Regions from separate parts of the Homo sapiens genome. Here all the other regions are linked to region 4. The links are contacts of gene promoters, found by promoter capture Hi-C in blood cells and fetal thymus (Javierre and others, 2016). All regions are on one chromosome and are shown on one strand. Each heading gives the region's core, a stretch centred on a gene start or on the middle of the fragment in contact. The rest is flanking DNA. Distances are from core to core; before and after follow the strand shown. Region 1 has its middle 6.5 kb from the start of PKD1L1. Region 2 has its middle 320 kb from the start of SNORD151. Region 3 overlaps HUS1 (HUS1 checkpoint clamp component). Region 4 holds the start of TNS3 (tensin 3). Region 5 overlaps PKD1L1 (polycystin 1 like 1, transient receptor potential channel interacting). Region 6 has its middle 4.4 kb from the start of UPP1. Region 7 overlaps SUN3 (Sad1 and UNC84 domain containing 3).

Region 1 (2,843 bases), core at 338-2,837, 370 kb after region 4:
GTTATTTCAGACCTGTCCAGTGTGAAGGGAGGCCCACCTGTCATTTGGGACAGGTTAAGCCACCAAACATCTAAGAATCACACTGGGCATTTCTTTCTAGATTTAAGACTGCATGCTCCAAAAACTGGTAAAGCCCCAGGTAGGAGCTGCTGTGGGAAGGCCAAATTTGAACTAGGTGAAGTGTTAATGAGGAAGTCCAGCATCCCATCAAGCACTTCCCTCACGAGGGCCCCTTATGTGCTCTGCCTCCTTGGCAGGGTTTATTTGCAAACAGTGAAAGAAGTGAACAGAGAAAAGACAAAAACACAAGGTAGATGCCCTCCACTCTGTTCTGGTTCTCACTTCTGTCTGGTCATGTTTTTCTTCCCCTGTAAGGGGAGGATCCTCCCCCAGAAGGCTTCACTAGAATTTTCTCTCAGCAAGGAAGATAACCAAAAAGATAATTTTAAATTGAAACTAGTATGGTAAAAAGTGGTTAGTGTATATATGTAGCCTCCTTTAAATTTTTAAATAGCTTGAGGTTAGAAACACAGGGCTGTCTGGTCACAAGGTTTGAGCCCTAAGGTCACTGGATGATGTCATGGTGCGCTAAGACACGCCAACCAAACCTCTATGAGCCTCGGAAGAGCCATGGAAGTCACCCAGTCTGCACTGTGTGCTGCCGTGAACTGGCAGCCTCTGGTTAGCAGCGTATTTTCACTGAGAAAAAAGCCAATTTTTGCTTGTTTTGTTTGGTAAGGCTTATGTTATGGTTTAAGTGTGTCCCCTAAATTCATAAGTTAGAAGCTTGGTCCTCTGCAGTGGTGTTGGGAGGCAGAGCCTGATGAGAAGTGATGAAGTCACAAGGACTCTGCTCTCATGATGGCTTAATGCTGTTACCAGGAGAATGAGTTGTTATCAAAGATGGTCTGCCCCTCTTGCCTCCTTTCTGTCTCCTGCACCCACTTCTGCCTTGTGCCCTTCTGCCAGGGGACAATACAGCAAGGAGGCCTTCACCAGATGCATCCCCTTACCTTACTTTGGACACCCCAGCCCCTAAAACTGTAATTACTCTTTTCTTTATAAATGACTCAGTCTGTGGGAATCAGCTATAGCCACACAACACAGACTAAGACCGCTTATAAATGCTCACATTTTACGCTTCCCAATTTAGAAACCTGCCAATGAGTAATGCTATTTTCTCTTATTCCAACCACCACAGGTGGTCAGCATGTTTAGTCACTGTTAGAGAAACTGTCTCAAGAGGCTGAATGACTTGCCCCAGACTAGGACGCTGGAAAGAGCCAAAATCCATTCCCAGATCTTAGGGTGTGGAATTCAGCATCTTTCCAAGCTACATATGCTGGTTATGGTTGTAAGATTGGTTCATTTGGTGCTACAGGCGAATAGGAACTAGATTCCAGGAAGGCGGCTACATTTTCTCGTGCTACCCACAGGGTCATCTTCCTTACTGTCCAGTGATTTGTGAAGTCCTGTGCGTGGCTGGTCTCTCCCAGGATCTTTTAGCCTACAACTTAATAACTGGTCACTCTGCCCTCACTGCAAAGACTGTTACAGACACTGATTGATCCTCATCCATGTTGGGCCCATGGTAAAAAGAGATGATTCTGCAATGTGGTGCCACCTTATTGATCGAGACTCCAGTATTCTAAACCTGGCATAACATCAAAATGACAAATAAAAAGTTTAATTTTCTATTTATGAAAATAAGGATGTGCTGTGAAAAGAGTCTGAAGTCCAATGTTCGGGAAACTGTAATTGCCGAGTGAATGTGTAAGGCACTCAAGTAACAAATATTTATTATTTAGTCCCTTAAAAATAATTTACTTTATTACAAAGATAGTAATACAATTTCTAGAAAATACATGCATGTACAAAGATTGAAATAAAAAAAACACTCATAAATATCCAGATTTAAATGTCAGCATATACCTTCCTGATCTTTTTCTATCATACTGTATCTATCAACATCTAACCTGCTTTTTTAACTATAAGTCATACATTTTGCCATATCAGTACACTTTTTTCTGTAACATTATTTTTAGAGCATATCAAACCATAGTTTATTTAACCAATCCCCAATTAATTCATAATTAGAATATTTCGTGTTTTTCCAGTATAACAGTTCTATAATCTTTGATTATAACCTTTGTGTAAATTCCTATAAGTATTGAGTCAAAGGAGACACACATCTTTTCAGGCATTACATATAAAATAAATACTAAACTAGACTCCAGGAAAGTGGTATCAATTCACATTCCCAATAGCACTGTCCCAATGGGGCTAATTTATCTCCTTTTTAATCTCAGCGTATTTCCAGTTATAACATACCATTTTTACCTCTTGATTCAACAATTGTACTTAGAAGAAGCTCTAAAAATCCAAAACTGAAGCTTCCTTTTAGACCCTCCCTATTACAATCCGTATGAAAGTACAGAATTCGAGAGTGACATCAGCCAAACGGAGAAGTGAAGCTTACTGGCTTCTCTCCCTACCACATAATTTCAACTAGCAAATACCCAGTGGCAAGATTATTGCCCTGAATATCCCAGAAATTGGGAGTGAAGCTGTGACAACTCACTGGACCACAGAGCCAAGAAAAACCATGAACAGAGGGTAAAGAGAATGGTTCTGTTTGATCATAACACCTCTCCCGCAAGCCCACATAGCACCGCACTTGGAGAATTTCTCTGGAATCAGTTTCTACAGTGGGAAAAGAGAGCGGGAGGTGGGCATTCACCTTCCGCACCATTCTGAGACTCTTCACAGGGGCACACTATGGTCCTTTCCCCCTGGAAGCACTGCAGGTGCCAGCAGGGTTAGCCTGCTAGGTGTAAATTAGA
Region 2 (2,700 bases), core at 123-2,622, 440 kb before region 4:
TTTCTTTGGTCCCCAGTTGACTGCTTTAGGTCAAGAAGGGTTGAATTGGATTAGAAGAAGTAGGAAAAGGAGGAAAAAGGAAATGGCATTTTTAGTACAGGGAAGAACACAAGCAATGGGATGGGGTGACAAAGTTGCACACAAGTGAAGGAGCAACACAGGAGGGGTGGGGAGTGGGGTAGGGCACCAGCAGGAAGAGCTCTGAAGGAGGGCCCAGCTAGAGTTTATGCTATATATTACAGGTAACAGGGAACCAGAAAAGTGTGTGGGAAGAGTGACATGATTGGGCCTTGTGTGGGAAATATATTGGAGCAATTGCACTTCTCATTTGAGGAGGGAGTACAGGGTAGGCAGAAAGATGAAACCAAAGGCTTTAATAGTAATCCAGATGAAAACAGGTAATGGTTAGAAATAGGGCTTGGTAATGAGCAAAGAAGCAGATAAAACCAGGAGCATATCAGAAGTAAAATGAACCAGAGTTAGTGAAAAGATGGGGTTGTAAGAGAGATGGCTGTGGGATGTTTTCAGCAGGAGGGATGCCTCAGGGTGGGGCTGCCATTGGCTGAGATAGTGACTGTGAGCAAAGCAATACATTTCTAGGGAGGGTGACAGATCTATTCTGAGCTGTGATGGAATGTCCTGGTAGAAATGTCATGCAGGCAAATGAAAGTTTTCACCTGGTGTCACAAGAAAGCTTGGGTGACAGGTGTATACTTGTCACTTATGAGATGAAGATGGAAGTTGAAGTGAAGAGAGAGGCTGAGCTAACCCGGAGAGATATACAATATGGAAAGGGAAGAAGCTAGAGTCAGAAATCTAAGGACAGTACTATTTAAAGGGTATGTTGAAAAGAAGGACGGGGAAAAGGGAAGAGGAGAAGAACTGAAAAACAAACCAGAGTTTTGTACACCAAAGTAAAGAGAGTTTCATGAAGAAAAGTATGATCATAATTGTAAGTCGATACGCGAAAGTTGAATATGAGAAAGAATGAAAAGAAGCGGAATAATCAGAAAGTCATTAGTTACCTTTGAGGGAGCATTTTCAGTCCCGTGGTTATGTGATAGGGTATAGAGATCGGCCTCAGTTTTGTTGAGAATTCAGGAGGAAATCAGCAGAGGCAGCACATGCAGGGAATTCTTTCAGAAGTTTCGTATAAATAGAGATAAAAGCAAATTGCCACAAAATGTGTTCAATGTAGGGAGACCAAAGCAAATATAGATACCACCATATACAGGAGTGAATGGTAGCACCACATGATGTACCTGAGTCAAACTTGGGAGAACTTCCTTTCTCTTGTTCTGTATGTGTTCTTTCAAAAAATCTTCAAAGATTATTACACTATTAAAGTTTTGCTACAATCTTCAGGAGTTCTTCAGCTAATCAATAGCATTTTCCTTTGCAAGTCACGTGTCAGAAAATTTACGCTTTGTTAACACAAGTAATATTCTTCACTGGGGAATAACTTAATCCAGCTTCTCTCACTTGCCCCTTTGCCATCCTCAGAAATATCTGGTCATGAGTCACTTTTTGCTCATGCAGTACTCCTAATAGGTTCAAGAGATTTTTCTACATAAAGTGTCTCTATGTATTGAGAGACTGTGGCCAAATCTATCTTTTCCTTACCCATGACCAACTCTAAATAGGAGCACCTAGTGTCTGTTGCAGGGCCCTGGCGGGGAGGGGGGGTGGCAGCAAGTGAGGACAAAGCTGCCAAGGGCTAGCAGTAACCAGTCAACGGGTCCTACCATCTGAGTTCCTATGACAAGTTCCCCACCTACATGGTGAGGTGTTTTAGAGCTGTGGTCAAACGTTTTATATAAACAAGAGCTGAGACCACAAACTATTAAGTGCAACATGTCAGTTAATAATTATTTAGTGTCCAGAGCCAAGAAAGTACTTCTCACACAGAGTGTCCTTGAAAAGAGAACCATGATATTTACAATGCCAAGAGGACTTTTGTGAAGCAAGGCTATGTGTGAAGCAAGGCTATGTGTGAAGCAAGTATGCAAATGCAGACTGGGCTAGGCCAAGTTTGGCTCCATTTGGAATAAAAGCTTTCTTTTTCTCTGCTTCTACTACATGCAACAACTATTTTATTTGGTTGCTTTATTAGCAAGTAAGTGGAGCTGCAGAAAAGATTAATACAAATAAGTAAATTTTATTTAGCAAGTAAGTGGAGCTGTAGAAAAGATTAATGCCATTTGTATGACTTTTCTTGATTGCAGTTATTAAGAACAATTCTTTCCTTATCTTTAGTGGTATTTGTATTTTTATGTTACTTTTTTTAAATTTTAAAACTACAGAAAATATTATCTGTAGTATAATAAATACATTAAGATTAGTTAAAATCCCATCATGGGAGAAAAGCACTTTTAACATTATGTTCCAGTATTGATACATAGGGAAAAGATACAAAAATATAAACCAAAGAGATTTCCATAGAAATTATTTAGTGGCTACACAGCATTTCATTGTTTGGATGTGTCATATTTTATTTTAAAAATCCTCTGTTGCTGGATATTTATGCTGAATTCAACTTATTACTGTTTTTAACAATACTGAGAAAAATCTTACACATATATATTCATATATGGCACAAAATTTCCTCGACATACCATTGATAAATGAGATTGTTCAAATGGATTAGCAATATTTCAAATCAGATAATAAATGGTGTTTGTAAAGCACTTACTGATAAGA
Region 3 (2,950 bases), core at 118-2,617, 390 kb after region 4:
AGACCTCCCAAATCAGAACCTGCACTTTAACCAGATTCCAGGGGATTCACACGCATGGTAGAACTTAGAAGCAATGTCTTAGAACATGATGTCAATTCCCTCCAGTTCTTGCTTCTTTTTCTGCTCCTGCATGAGTCACATACAACCCACCCCATCAGTCACACCTCGCATTTAATGAAAGGAAGTAACTGGGCATCTCTAATGGGAAGGTGGGCATTTTTAGTGTGTTAAGTCTACCCATTTTCCTTAATTCTACTGCCTGTAATATTCAGATACAGAATTCTGGATACCCAGGAAGACCTCATTATGTACTTTGCTACAGTAACTTGATAACTTTCCATTTAGTAATTCCAGATCGTAGTAGCCTCTCCACAATATTTCTATGTTTTTTTAAACTCCAAAAAAGAGAAAACAAAACACCTCTGATGATTCTAAGCTACCCTTCTACCTCTCTACCTTGCTGACTCATTTTCATTGAACAGAAAGAACAAACAAATGCCATCCTTCAATTAACAGCCCTGTCTTTTCTCTCCTGGGCCTCTCTGAATTTCTCTGGAAGTCCCCAGGGTATCCCCAGATGAAGCCAGCCTGACAACTGGATCAGCATCACTGCAGTCACAGGTGACACCAACGTCAGCACAGTGCACACTGCTTCATGGAAAACAGATTTTATAGATTAAGTTATGAAGGAAAAGCTTTGAGTTACCCAGGTCCAATGACAGCATTGCTCTTAGTGTGCAGAACTCTAGAAAAAAACAGTCAAATGTACATTTTCTAGGCTTCAAAATACTTTTGTGATTTCAAAGACCTCTTGAAGCTAAATTTTGTTCCAGATCCATGCAACACTTATTGCTGCCTACTGAGTGGCAATCCCACACTGGGCAGCTGGGACACAAAGATGATTAAGATGGGGTTTCCTTTATCAAGAAGCTGGTGGTTCACGAGACCTTCAGAGATCTTAGCAGGTGATTTACCATGTACACTGGACAGCTCAGCTCCATGGAGGAGCTTCCAGAGGGGTGGTGGGGAAAGGTCTGTGATGAAGCATGAGAATGGCTAAGTGCCTTCCAGGGAGATGGAGAGAAGAAGCCATGTGTCAAATGGCAAAGAAACTGAACAAAAAAGAAGAGGCATTGTGGGGGAATACCAGAACCCAGCCTCGTTCTGCAGGGAGGGTGTGGCAATACAACAGAGATGTGGCTATAAAGGTGGCCTGGTACACTGTCAAGATCAAAAGTTTATGCTTCATCAGGTGGACAGTGGTTTTTAGAAGATTCAGGGACATAACCAAGGGTGTTTTTTGGAGCAGGATAGGAGGGAGCAGGGGGAGGAGGGAGGGGCAGTGAGTGAAGGAAGAATTCACAATAACCCCAGGTATGAATGAGGATAACCTACACATTTCCCACCACTGTCACACACTGTAACATTTCGAGCCATGTGGCCATAGGAGACTTCCACAAAATAAACAGAAAATAAACAGAAATATAAAAGTGCCCCCTAGCTTGGTGTGAGGTGTGCTTGGAATAAAGGCTGCTATGGTGTGGCATATCTTTGTCCCTGGCTCACTGAAAGACACTTGGCACGCAGACAGGAAACTCCAAACTCACTGTCAGTCATATCAGTGACTCACAGAAAAATACGGGCACGTTAGCAGGTAAAAGATACAATGTTCCAGCCGGGCGCGGTGGCTCACGCCTGTAATCCCAGTACTTTGGGAGGCCTAGGCGGGCGGACCACGAGGTCAGGAGATCGAGACCATCCTGGCTAACACGGTGAAACCCCGTCTGTACTAAAAATACGAAACAAAAAATTAGCCAGGCATGGTGGCAGGCGCCTGTAGTCCCAGCTACTCGGGAGGCTGAGGTGGGAGAATGGCATGAACCCGGGAGGCGGAGCTTACAGTGAGGTGAGATGGCGCCATTGCACTCCAGCCTGGGCGACAGAGTGAGACTCTGTCTCAAAAAAAAAAAAAAAAAAGAAAGATACAATGTTTCATACAAAATATAAGAGGAAAAACAGGCAGATTAAAGGCAAATATAAAAGCTTTCCTCAAAGAATTAGAGTTGAAAAGTATTGGAATAGGTTTCTAAATCCAACTAGCAATCTGCAGGTTCTCAGCACCAGGCCAGGTCCTCATAAGTGGGAACTCGGTTAGGAGGTGCCCACCTGCATGGACTGCTGCAGGGTGAGCTGGAGAACCCACGCCGTCCCACCAAATACTTCAGAGTTCTTTTCTAAAGAAGTTGTGACTTACAAGGTGATTGCTGATGTTTTTCATTTTTTCCACAACACTCTTCATAGTCTTCAAGACTGGTAAATAAATACTAACCTACAAAACCAATGAGAAAAAAGCACAAGTATTAAAAATATTAATATACTCTAGTAATGACAAGGGCCCCATAACTAACTCTAGAACACATGCATGCTCAAAAACTATGGGATACTATTTTACAATTTTCTGAATAAAGTTCTTTTAAAAATATAAAAAGAAAACCAATTCTATTTCACTAACTCAAGGATGCTCAAGCAAAATTAAAGAATGGAATGCCTGCCTCTGGTTACCTCAGCAACCATGTCCCTGTGGGCATTCTTTTGGCTCAAGAAGGAATAGGGTACTTCAGCTGAGATGCCCCTATATTGGTCCAGGGGGAATATAACTCAGGCAATCAGCAGGAGGCCCTCCTCTAAGGGACATTTACACCTATGATTCAAGGGCCTTTTCCATGCTCTGTACAAAAACATGGCAGACAGTCACTGCATCACATCTGAGACTGTTACCAAGAGTGCTCTATAAAACACAGGCTTTTTCAAAATCAGTGTAGGTGCCATCTAGTAAAAGTCAAGTAATTATTTTACCCAGCATATTTCTGTACTTTCTTCTTAAACAAATTGTGAGCAAGAGGAAATGGGCCCTTTGGCATCATCTTTACTTTCAGGAGCTCTAGGGTTA
Region 4 (2,890 bases), core at 37-2,536:
TAGTTCAGAAGGGCCATGCAATATTAATACAATGAGTTCTGCATTCATACTTTTCAGTATATTTTCAGAGTCCTCCATGATCATGCATTCAAATAGTGAAAAAAATGGGGGGAAAGCCAACCCGGAAGATCAAAGTGTGTGAATGCGCCCCAAGGAAGCCTGGGGGCTTCCCAGGGGGTTGTGACCACCCTCAGTAGTGCTCTCTGCTGGCCCCACACCCTGATGGCGCTTTGAGTTTTTCAACCACGCTGGAGTTCGGGTCATCTGCTGACACTGTCTGGAGAATGCCTGAGGAACGCCTGAATCTCTTCCCGCCACAGACACTCAAATCACTCCAAGCAAAGGACCCGGGACTCACATGTCAGGCCGCTGCACAGCACCGACACAGAGACCCCTGGGCCGTCCGGGACCCTCCCTCCTCCTGCTTGTCAGCGACAGCTCCCGCGTGCCAGGAGGCACATGCCACACAGCTGGCCCCCAGCCTGGGACAGCACCCCCCACCCCAGAATATCCCCCCACCCCGAGGTCCCGTCCTTCAGGGAAAAAAAGGAAGCGCGTAAAGACCCCCTGCCTCCCACCCACCAAAGGGAAAGGGAAAGAGACGCACTGGAGAGCTTGCCTAGAAAAAGTAGGAGAAGGGTCTTGAGCCTGCCCATTGAAGCCCCTAGCTGCGCTCTCCACCTGGAGTCTCGAGACGGAGTCCTAGGGAGCAAAGTCCGCTCGGTCCCGACAGCGACTGCGACATAGCTGCTCCGGTCTCTGCCCTCAGTCCAGGGCGCCCGGGCGCCACGGGTCCCACTCGAGTGGTCCTGCGCCCCAGCCAGTCCCCAAACCCAGCCAGTCAGCGCCCCCGTCCCCGGACTCCGGCGAAGCTGGCCCGCGCCCCAGCCCCTGTCCTGGGACTCCTGCCGAGCCCCCGCCCCCCACGCGCCGCAAACCCCGTACCCGCGCGCACCAAACCCCTTGCCCGTGCGCCCCCAACCGGGTCCCCGCGCTCCCTAACCTGGGTTCTCCCGTGACCCCATCCCCGCGCCCTGAGCTCCCGTACCCCGCGCTCCCCGAACTCTGTCTCCGCGCTCCCCGAACTCAGTCCCCGCGCCCCAGCTCCAGATCTCTGTGCTCCCCAAGCCTCGTTCCTGCGCCCGGAGCGCGAAAGCCCGCGCCGGGCCCGAAACAAAGAGGACCGCGGCGCGTGGCCGCGTTTCCTCCTTCCCCGGCCCCAGTACCTGGGGGAGCCTGAGGCGCGGTCCGGCAGGGCGATGGCCGCAACGAGGCTGGGCTCCGAGTAGCGCGCGGGCGGGCCCGTCCTCCTGGCTGGCTGCCGGCGCCCGCGGCAGGGCCCCCTCGAGGCGGCGCGGGCAATCGCCACGGCCGGCCCCCGCGCCCGCGCCCCGAGCCTGGCGGGTCACCTGGCCTCATCACCCTAACAATGCAGCGCGCCTCCAGGCGCCCTTCACCGGGGTCCCCCGCCCTGCCGAGGTGCGCCCTGGGACCTCCCTTCGCTGGCCGCAGAGAGGACCTGGAATTATCAGACCCATTGAGCAGCCCAGGCTCCAAGTGGTCTGGAGGCTTGCAGGTTCCGCCGGGCCGGTGTTAGAGTACCTGGGGAGGCGGGTTCGGATCCTGGTTCCTGCACAACCAGTTCATTCTTTCATTCAGCGCCTGTGATTAAGGTGCTCTCCGGGAGCAAGACCTACCCTCCCTCCTGTAGCTCATAGCCTAGTGGGAGTCGCGCATACATAAAGGAGCACAGCCGCTCCGGAAAGCCTAGGGTGCCGTAGAAGCCCCTGAAATACCCAGCTAATGAAGGGAGGAGGTCAGGGAAGTCTTTAGAAGTCACATGACTTCTTAAAATGCGCCGGGACAAATGAGCAGAATTTAGGCAAGCCAGGGGAAACCAGAAAAACGATCCCGAGCAGAGAGATTCTCAGAGGAGGAAAGGCCTATAGGTTGTCCATCCTGACTGTCCATCCCTGAGATTCAGATGGCCCTGAACTCAGTCGCTTAGCCTCAGTTTCCCCATTTGTGAGATCGGGGGAATGGAAAAAGTTTGCAGAAATCAGAAGTGCTCTTCCTCCAGGGAGGTCACAAGAGAAATTTCATCAGCGGTTTGTCCTGTGGTCCTTTCCAGGAAAACATCCTCCCCGCCAGCCTCTCACAGAAGAGACCTAGATTTCATCTGCCACGTGGAGCAGGCGGTCTCAGAATCCCACCCGGAGCAGGGTCCAGGGCAAGTCTTGGAGGACAGTCACCAAGAACTGCTTTGGATTCGGGAACAGAGCTGCCTAACCCATCCGCAGCCCTGGGGTCCTGCCCTGTTCCTCTGGCCCCTTCAGGGCAGCGGGGGAAGCAGGGAAAACAGCCTGTCAGAGATGGCAGAGAAACCGAGCAAGAATAATTATCCTGGAAAAGACTTTCAGAAGTAACCACCAGAAACTTCGAGTCCCCAGATCCAAACAGCTGAGAATGTGGGGCCTGAGCCACGCTCTGACTCCACTCCCACCACATGAGGAGAAACAAGAGCTGCTTTTCTGGAAGACTTGAACAACCCCTGCTGTGCTCTGGAAGGTAGTGTCATTTCTCATCCCCAGACTGATCTGGGTATTTATTCCCAGGCAAAGGCTTCATGAGCACCATGCCCCAGCCCCTAGAGATGAGGCAGGCATTTTTCCTACACTCTAGGAGACACCAGGTCAAGAGTCAATGAGATGAGTCAAGGGGTGCCAGGGAAGATGCCATAGGGGAAGGTGGGGAGGAGGTCACAGCCAGCTGGGTTAGGAATGGGGGTGAGGCTGGTACTGTTACGATCTCCTTTGTCCTGATAAGGAAACAGGATCTGACATTCTAGGCAACTTGTTCAAGGTCACCCACCTGGTCAGGCGAAGAAAGT
Region 5 (2,891 bases), core at 30-2,529, 330 kb after region 4:
AATACTGATATAGTTCGGATGTTTACCTCTCCCTAATCTAATGTGTCGAATTGTAATACCCAAAGTTGGAGGTAGAGCTTGGCGGGAGGTGACTGGATGATGGGAGTGGATTCCTCATGAATGGTTTAGTACCATCCTTTGGTGGTGTCCTTGCGATAGTGAGTGACTTCTCTTGAAATCTGGCTATTTAAAAGTGTGTGGCATCTCACTCTCTCTCATTTCTGCTTTTACTGTGTGCTGTGCCTGCTGCCCTGTAGCCTTCTACCATGATTGTAAACTTCCTGAAGCCTCCCCAGAAGCTAAGCAAATGTCGGCACCCGTGCTTACTGTAAAACCTGCAGAACCGTGAGCCAATTAAGCTTCTTTTCTTTATAAGTTACCTAGTTTGAAGTATTTCTTTATAGCAATTGGAGAATGGCCTAATACAAATACCAATTCCTTACTTTATTCATAAAACAACAAAAGAAACCAATGAATATGTATCAAAGTTGCAGATGCTTAAAATTATTATAATAGAGCAAGTCCTGATGTGAAATAGAGATATACTTAGCCTTCTACTTAATCTTCTAGGAGTTAATCCAAAAACAAAAAGGAAAACAGTGAATAAAAATAAAAACTTTTTCTCTCTTTGTTTAGTGAAACTAGGAGGTAGCTAGCATGTTCAGAATACAAAATAGACGCAAAAACTGCTAAAAGCGGCAAATATCAAGCATGCATGAGCAGGAACCGTATTGAAGGAAGAAAACAGAAAACGTCCTAAAGTGAGAACTCAGTTGCCAAAGGGCTCAGTGGCTGTGAATATCATCAACACGCATACATGTGTGTACGCAACACACACACACACACTCCACCAGCAGTTAGTTCAGAAAAAAATGCAACTCTTTAAATTATGAGTAATGCTGTGAAGAAAAAAAAAAAAAGAAAGGAAGGAAGAAAGGAAGGAAGGCAGGAAAGAAGAAGGGAGGGAAGGATAAAGGGAGAAAAGGAGGGAGAAAAGACCATTCAGCATGTACAAGATACTATAAGAGTCAAGAGGGAAAATTCAGGAAATACTCATAATAGATTAAGATAATTTATCAGAAAAACACTGTCCACAAGAACAGGACTGAACAACTTGAGGAATCGTTATCTTCTGAGATGGAAGACCAGAGAGCATCTGGTCTTGGAAGGAAACAAAGTCAACATTTTAGAGTATAATGGAGAATGGAAAGTGTAGAACACAAAAGAAGGGATGCAGAGGAAAATATGAGGAAAGCGGATCAGATGAAAAAGGAAAAACAAAAAAGATTTGAAAAGACAAAAGAGAACTAATAGATGTATGCCAGTCTCCCAAAAAGAAAGCTGACATATTGGAATAGAAACAATGTAAAGATCTAATTCAAGAAATCTTTCCTGAAACAAAGGACACATTGAAAAGGTACACCATGTGCTGGAGAAAGGTGACCCAGAGTGGCCAGCACTTAGACACGTGCTGGCAAAGCTGCTGGAGTTGCAAATAAAGAAATAACTACCGGCTGGGCACGGTGGCTCAGACCTGTGATCCTAGCACTTTGGGAGGCTGAGGCGGGTGGATCGCTTGAGGTCAGGAGTTTGAGCCTGGCCTGGCCTTCATGGTGAAATGCCATCTCTACTAAAAATACAAAAATCAGCCAGGCGTGGTGGTGTATGCCTGTAATCCTAGCTACCTGGGAGGCTGAGGCATGAGAATCACTTGAACCCAGGAGATGGAGGTTGCAGTGAGCCGAGATCATGCCACTGTACTCCAGCCTGGGCAACAGAGTGAGACTGTGTCTCAAAAAAAAAAAAAAAAAAAAAAAGAAAAGAAATAATTCTCATGACAATCACAGAAAAACATTAATCAATGACGGGGAAAAAAGAAGGCTGACTTTGGAATCACCACAAGGTAAGAAAGACAGAATGGAGAATTTCAGGGAGGCTTCTTCAGACAGAGTGTCAGGGCCACCAGCTGAATTTCTGATTCAGTAGGTCTGCAGTGGGCCTGAGAGTCTGTATTCTAAGCCAGTCTCAGGTGGTCATGATGCTGCTGGGCCAAACTTGGAGAACCATGGTTACAGGAGAGAACAGAATGGAAAGACAACCAGATTCCCCAGGAAAAGAACATGTGTCCAAGGAGTCCAGAGCCAGCACACTGTCGTTCCAACATAATGGCAGCAACAGTTTTGAATATGGGAACTTAGAGGAAGCTTATTGCATGAATTTTCCTAAAAAAAATCTACTAGAGGACAAACTTCAGACAACCAAACAGGAACACCATGCCAAAAAAAAGCTGAGTGAGGACCGAATATATTAGCTCTAGAACCGGAACTAAGACTAATGTGGGAAAGCAGGTTGATATGATTTGGATCTGTGCCCCCACCAAATCTCATGTCGAATTGCATTCCCCAGTATTGAAGGTTGGGCCTTCAGCACTGGCGGTGAGGAGGTGGGTGGTGATTGGATGATGGTGGCAGATTTCTCATGAATGGTTTAGTGTCACCCCCAATCCCTGCCACTTGGTACTGTCCTCATGATAGTGAGTTCTCATGAGATCTGGTCTTTTAAAAGTGTGTGGCACCTCCCCCCCTCTTGCTCCTACTCCGGCTATGTAACGTGTGTGTTCCCTGTTCGCTTTCTGCCATGATTGTAAGTTTCCTGAGGCTTCCCCGGAAGCTGAGCAGATGCCCACATCAATGTTTCCTATACAGTCTGCAGAACTGTGAGCCAATTAAATCTCTTTTCTTTATAAATTATCCAGTGTCAGGTATTTCTTTATAGCAATGCAAGAACAAACTAATACATAAGTAGCAGAAAAAAAGGTAAACATTTCATGTTCTGACAATGTAGAAATCATACAGTAAACGAAATTTGGGCTGGGGAAGAGAAGAGGTAGG
Region 6 (2,700 bases), core at 27-2,526, 500 kb after region 4:
CAAATGGAGCTGTGTGGCAGCAAGGCATGAGACAAGGGTGTTTCCTAGATTAGATGGTTCCAGAGGCCCTGAATGAGAAATACCACATCCTGCCAGCACCACCTCTCCTAAAGGTGAAGACTGAGAGGGCAAGAACCAGTCAGCCATTGGCATCCGTTGGGTAGCTGGCTGTGACTCCTAAGTGTTTTGTATAAATATCTCATGGCCTGTATCTTTTCTGTAAACATGGATATGCCTGTGAAGCCTCTGGGCAGCTGGAATCCTGTGGGAATCCTCCACTTCCTTGGAGGCTAGCCATTGACTGTGAGGACTAAGCTCTGACGTTTTTTTTTATCTTGCCAATTCTTATCTAAGGGGTCTGGGGAGTCATGCCCTATAAACAATGAATTCTCATGAGATGGGTTTTATTTAACCCTATATATCGTGACTTACTTTCCAACCTGACTCTGGCATAACATTACGAGACAGGGAAGAAAATAAAAATATTTTATCCCAAAACATGTTTCTTTGCCATATCTTGAAATGGCCCTGCAAAGCTGTCCTTTGTGGGGGAAATTTGCATCTGTAAAAAATCTCTATTAACATAGCTAGAGCTTTTTCTTCCAGGCTCTCCCAATTTTAAAGAGATTAACTGGCCGGGCACGGTGGCTCACGCCTGCAATCCCAGCACTTTGGGAGGCCGAGGCAGGTGGATCACAAGGTCAGGAGATCGAGACCATCCTGGCTAACATGGTGAAACCCTGTCCCTACTGAAAATACAAAAATTAGCTGGGTGTGGTGGCGGGCGCCTGTAGTCCCAGCTACTCGGGAGGCTGAGGCAGGAGAATGGCATGAACCTGGGAGGCGGAGCTTTCAGTGAGCCGAGATCGCGCCACTGCACTCCAGCCTGGGTGAGAGTGTGAGACTCCATCTCAAAAAAAAAAAAAAAAAAAAGAGATTAACTAAGTGTCTAGCACCTTTTATTAAAGATCTGAATAGGAAACATTTGTCATCTATTGTCTCTAAGGGCAGCCACTATAAGACTTCAAATACCCTGGGTCTCCACAATCTTTTATCTTAACCTGGACATTTCCTTTCTATCAATCCAGGTCTTTAGACAAACTCAACCAATTGTAAACCAGAAAATGTCTAAATTTACCTATAGCCTTGAACCCTGCCCCCTACCCCGCTTTGAGTTGTCCTGCCTTTCTGGACCAAACCAATGTATTTCTTAAATGTATTTGATTGCTGTCTCATGCATTCCTAAAACATATAAAACCAAGCTGCACCCTGACCGCCTTGGGCACGTGTCCTCAGAACCTCCTGAGGGCCGTTTGCTGTGTCACGGGCCATGGTCATTCACATTTGGCTTAGGATAAATCTCTTCAAATATTTTACAGAGTTTGACTCTCTTTGTTGACTACTAGGACCAGCAACCTGGGAAAGTGATGGCTCATCAGACTGGACTCAGCTGCCAGGGGAGTGGGCCTGCCACTGTGAGCCTATCTGAGCTGGGGGTGGGTCAGGGGACTGAGTAGCTCTATATGATGAGTGAGAGTTGGCGGGAAGAATCTCACTTTTTGTATTTTGGCAAGAATTTGAAATCTCAGGGGTCTGAGTCATGCTGTAGTCTCACCACAGGCCTCAGGGGAGTCAACTTCTGACCTGGAGGCCTGGTCTGGGTTTGTGGTGTCTGAGTCATAGTTCGTGTGATAAAAGTACGTGCTCTGGTGTGGAAAGCAGGCAGAGGCTTTTTCACTCCATTCTGTCTCACTGACAATGAAAATGCTAGCTGTGACCCACCACATGGGTTTCATGACCCACGAATGGACCAGGCAGCTGTTTAGAAAACACTGCGGCTCAATTTCTGCCCTCTCTGAGGGGTGTTCTAGAAATCTGTATGGCTGCTGGATTGGAAAGAAAAGAGCAATTGCATGAGGAATTGGGAAGTGAGGACAAACAGAGAAGAAGCCTCAGCTACTATCTCTAAAATATTATCTGAGAAAGAAAACAAACAAACAAACAACAAACACATTTCTTTTCCTGAGGAAGGTGAGCCTTTAAATTATCAGGCCCAGAGAACATTTAGAACAGAACAGCAGTCATGGCTCACTTCCCCTTCAGCTAAGTGGTTACCTCTTGAAGCCACTTGCTATGTGGCTGTAGAATAACTGAGGCCAATTAGCCATAAGATGCCATCCACCCTATAGTTCAACACTGTGTGGGCAATCACTAACCAATGTTATTTCTGTAAACCAATGAGGATTCCTGACAACTCTGCAATCGCCCCATCTCCTGAGTTGTTCTTTTTTCTTTAAAAACTTGAGCCTCCTTTTTGTTCTTGGAGCACTCCCCATGGCAACTTAGAAGTGTGTCCTGGGCTACAGTCCTCAACCTGGGCACAAATAAACTCTCTATGTTAATTTTGTCTCATCTTTCTTTTAGGTAGACACATTAGCTTTGGGAGAATTTCAAAGAGTTTGAAGTTACTTAGATTTGGGAAACCTGAAGGGCAGTGGTGTGTCACTATCTGGTGTGGCCTGGCCTTCAGCCTCTCAGCCCCTTCCCTCCCCACCTCTCAGAGCTCAGGGCCAACTGCATCTCTGAAAGAGCCCAAAGACCTTGTTGAGGAGCAGGGGGATCCTGGCTGAGCCTGCAAGCCCTGGGTCTCTTCCAGACTTTCCTGCCTCTAGCAGCTGCTGCTCTAGGTGGCCATTGGTG
Region 7 (2,739 bases), core at 170-2,669, 410 kb after region 4:
AATAGTGGTCATGGCAATGGTATCACCTAAAAAGGTGGTGGTAGAGGTAATGGTGATGGTAGTAATGGTAGTGGTGGTGATAGTGATGGTGATAATTGAAGTGGTAGTGGTGATGGTGGTGATGAAGGTAGTGGTGGTGGTGGCAGTGATGGTGGTGGTGGTGGTGACAGTGATAGTGGTGGTGGTGATGATGATGGACATGGGGGTGGTGATGAAGAAAGATGGTGAGGTGGTGGTGGTGGTGGCAGTGATGGTGGCTGTGGTGGCAGTGATGGTGGTGGCGGTGATGGTGATGGACATGGAGGTTGTGATGAAGAAAGATGGTGCTGGTGGTGGTGATGAAGATGAGGGTTTTGATGGAGATGGGGGTGGTGGTGGTGGTTATGGTGGTAGAGAAGAAAAATGAGGTCTACTACTTTGTAGATATAAACTACAGCCTGGAATAAGATCAGTGGGTTTTACCCCTGAAAGTTCTAAATTTGCAACTAACTTCAGGTGTATGGATCAAAGTTGAGAGGTGCTCTGCTGTCTATTGATGGCTACTGCCTTTAGACTGTAACTGAAAAGTTTGGTGGGGATCTTACTTGGAGATTTCTCCTGTTATAATTAGACTTAAGAACATGTGGTCTGAATAGCACTTAACATAGTACAGTACTGGCACTTAGGAGACAAGTACTTTCAACAAATGTTTGTTGAATGACTGAAGTTTTCAATGGAAAAGGATGGTCACAGAATCAACTTACAGAAAAGACATGGAATGTATATGTTTTACTTGAAAATAAAATAATCTAGTTTACTAATCTTAAAATGATAAATAAGTAAATAATTAATCATAGTTTACTGACCATAAAATAAGACATAATTCATGCAGTGTACTGACTATAAAAATATAATGAGATGATTTCAGATTCTGTGACAAGTTCAGACACTCTTATATTGCCTCCATTTTTAAAATTAACATTTTCATGATAAATAATAAGAACAAAATTCTAAAATAGAAATAAGTGATTCTTAATTTAGCTTTACCTGAAGAATAATATCTGGAGGCATTTCATGATTTAGGAAACCTATCCCATGCCAGTACAATTTTGCTTTATTATTTTTATAACTTTCTGAGGTCCCAGCTTCAATGATGGAGGCTCCTAAAATTATAAAGTAAGTTGTAAAATAAAGAAACAACATACACAATTCAAAACACATCATTTGAATTTTAACAATGTCTCTAGAAAATTATTACTGGGCAAATTATAAGCGAGGTAAAATTCATACTCAGGAATTGATAGGAAAAGTATGACAGTTTTCACTACCACTGAAATTTTGTCATTTTGAAGAAAACTAGTTTGTTCTGTTTAGTTTCACAAAATGTATGATTAAAAAAATTGAATTTTGAGGCAAGTAAATTAGAGATGAGAATATTATATGGATTCTGTATCACCTAAAAACGTATATAGATCTTTATATTTTAACAGCTCATGTGATAAATGAGACTTCCTGTCATTCCCATTCACTCAATAACAAAAAAAGCAGAAAACCAACAATGCTCCAAATGTCCTTCAAGTTACATTTGTAGCAATTATGCAGATTCATTGAACTCTATTTTAATCAAAGAAATATGAAATATACTCATCAAACATTATCCCTTCAGGTTACTTCATTTTAGAAGCAAAATGTATTTTATACAGAATAAATAAAGAAAATGCAAATTGCTTTTACAAATTGCATTTGCATAACACACCACAACACTAAAAATACATGTGCCTCATCAAATATCTGATTATCCTTACTTTTTCTTTCCTTCTTTTTTTTTTTTTTTTTTGAGACGGTGTCTCACTCTGTCGCCAGGCTGGAGTGCAGTGGTGGAATCTTGGCTCACTGCAACCTCCGCTGCCTGGGTTCAAGTGATTCTCCTGCCTCAGCCTCCCAAGTAGCTGGGACTACAGGCGCCCGCCACCACGCCGGCTAAGTTTTTGTATTTTTAGTAGAGACAGGGTTTCACCATGTTGGCCAGGATGGTCTCGATCTCTTGACCTAGTGATGTACCCACCTCGGCCTCCCAAAGTGCTGGGATTACAGGCGTGAGCCACCGCGCCCAGCTGATTATCTATACTTTTCCTAAGATGACACACTTTTTGAAATAGTAATTGAGTTCCTAGAGTTGCCAGATTTGGCAAATAAAAATAAAAGACAGCCATTTAAATTTGAATTTCAGGTAAACAAAGAATAATTTTTTTAGTAGTAGTCATGTCCCATACAATATTTGGGATATATTTATACTAAAAGATTATTTGCTATTTGTCTGAAATTTAAATTTAACTGGGCTCCCTTCATTTTATCTGGAAACCCTATGTGTACTTCGTTTTTGAAGGCTAATTCTGACTGCCCGCTCACTATTCCTACTCGACCAACTGGCTGGACAGAATCTACACTTTCACCTGCTAATGTGGGGACTGAATACCCCATCCCCATAATCCTTTCCAGAAAAAAATTAAAATTTTAGTGTGGTGGAATTTTGAAAATAATTCATATTTATTCATTTTCTCATTCATTAAAAGATTTAAATCAGCTTTATTAAGATATAATTCACATCCTATACAATTCACTCATTTACAGTGTATGATTCAGGGTTTTGTATTATATTCTTAGAGTTGCACGGCCACCACAATCAATTTTAGAACATTTAGTCAACCCCAAAAGGAACCCATAGTGGTTAGCTGTCATTCCCCATTTCCCTCAACCTCT

What was found. The method cuts DNA at HindIII sites, captures the fragments that hold promoters and counts their contacts. A CHiCAGO score of 5 or more calls a contact.
Region 1: a fragment that was not itself captured here is called in contact with the fragment with the promoter of TNS3 in region 4 in 3 of 17 cell types (M0 macrophages, M1 macrophages and M2 macrophages); the score reaches 6.8 in M0 macrophages.
Region 2: a fragment that was not itself captured here is called in contact with the fragment with the promoter of TNS3 in region 4 in 1 of 17 cell types (total B cells); the score reaches 7.5 in total B cells.
Region 3: a fragment that was not itself captured here is called in contact with the fragment with the promoter of TNS3 in region 4 in 1 of 17 cell types (M0 macrophages); the score reaches 5.0 in M0 macrophages.
Region 5: a contact is called between a fragment that was not itself captured here and the fragment with the promoter of TNS3 in region 4, in 3 of 17 cell types (total B cells, naive B cells and M2 macrophages). The highest score is 9.9, in total B cells.
Region 6: a fragment that was not itself captured here is called in contact with the fragment with the promoter of TNS3 in region 4 in 1 of 17 cell types (M0 macrophages); the score reaches 5.5 in M0 macrophages.
Region 7: a contact is called between a fragment that was not itself captured here and the fragment with the promoter of TNS3 in region 4, in 2 of 17 cell types (M0 macrophages and total B cells). The highest score is 6.0, in M0 macrophages.

Annotation. Positions count from the first base shown.
Region 1 is chr7:47,953,558-47,956,400 of GRCh38, forward strand. It overlaps a transcript of PKD1L1 not described here. Among named protein-coding and RNA genes, the nearest start is that of PKD1L1, 6.5 kb to the left of the region's middle. The HindIII fragment of the contact is 1,607 bases long and covers 785-2,391 here.
Region 2 is chr7:47,145,583-47,148,282 of GRCh38, forward strand. No RefSeq gene overlaps it. Among named protein-coding and RNA genes, the nearest start is that of SNORD151, 320 kb to the right of the region's middle. The HindIII fragment of the contact is 1,360 bases long and covers 693-2,052 here.
Region 3 is chr7:47,973,359-47,976,308 of GRCh38, forward strand. HUS1 (HUS1 checkpoint clamp component) reads right to left here. Exons shown (of 8, transcript NM_004507.4): 5 at 2,255-2,329. Among named protein-coding and RNA genes, the nearest start is that of HUS1, 4.8 kb to the right of the region's middle. The HindIII fragment of the contact is 1,348 bases long and covers 694-2,041 here.
Region 4 is chr7:47,580,825-47,583,714 of GRCh38, forward strand. TNS3 (tensin 3) reads right to left here and starts at 1,287. Exons shown (of 31, transcript NM_022748.12): 1 at 1,227-1,287. RefSeq lists enhancers at 623-1,160, 1,161-1,698. The HindIII fragment of the contact is 9,706 bases long and covers 1-2,890 here.
Region 5 is chr7:47,911,022-47,913,912 of GRCh38, forward strand. The region is part of intron 8 of PKD1L1 (polycystin 1 like 1, transient receptor potential channel interacting); the gene reads right to left. Among named protein-coding and RNA genes, the nearest start is that of PKD1L1, 36 kb to the right of the region's middle. The HindIII fragment of the contact is 1,845 bases long and covers 358-2,202 here.
Region 6 is chr7:48,083,489-48,086,188 of GRCh38, forward strand. No RefSeq gene overlaps it. Among named protein-coding and RNA genes, the nearest start is that of UPP1, 4.4 kb to the right of the region's middle. The HindIII fragment of the contact is 4,999 bases long and covers 1-2,700 here.
Region 7 is chr7:47,995,005-47,997,743 of GRCh38, forward strand. SUN3 (Sad1 and UNC84 domain containing 3) reads right to left here. Exons shown (of 10, transcript NM_001030019.2): 7 at 1,027-1,142. Among named protein-coding and RNA genes, the nearest start is that of HUS1, 17 kb to the left of the region's middle. The HindIII fragment of the contact is 4,013 bases long and covers 1-2,739 here.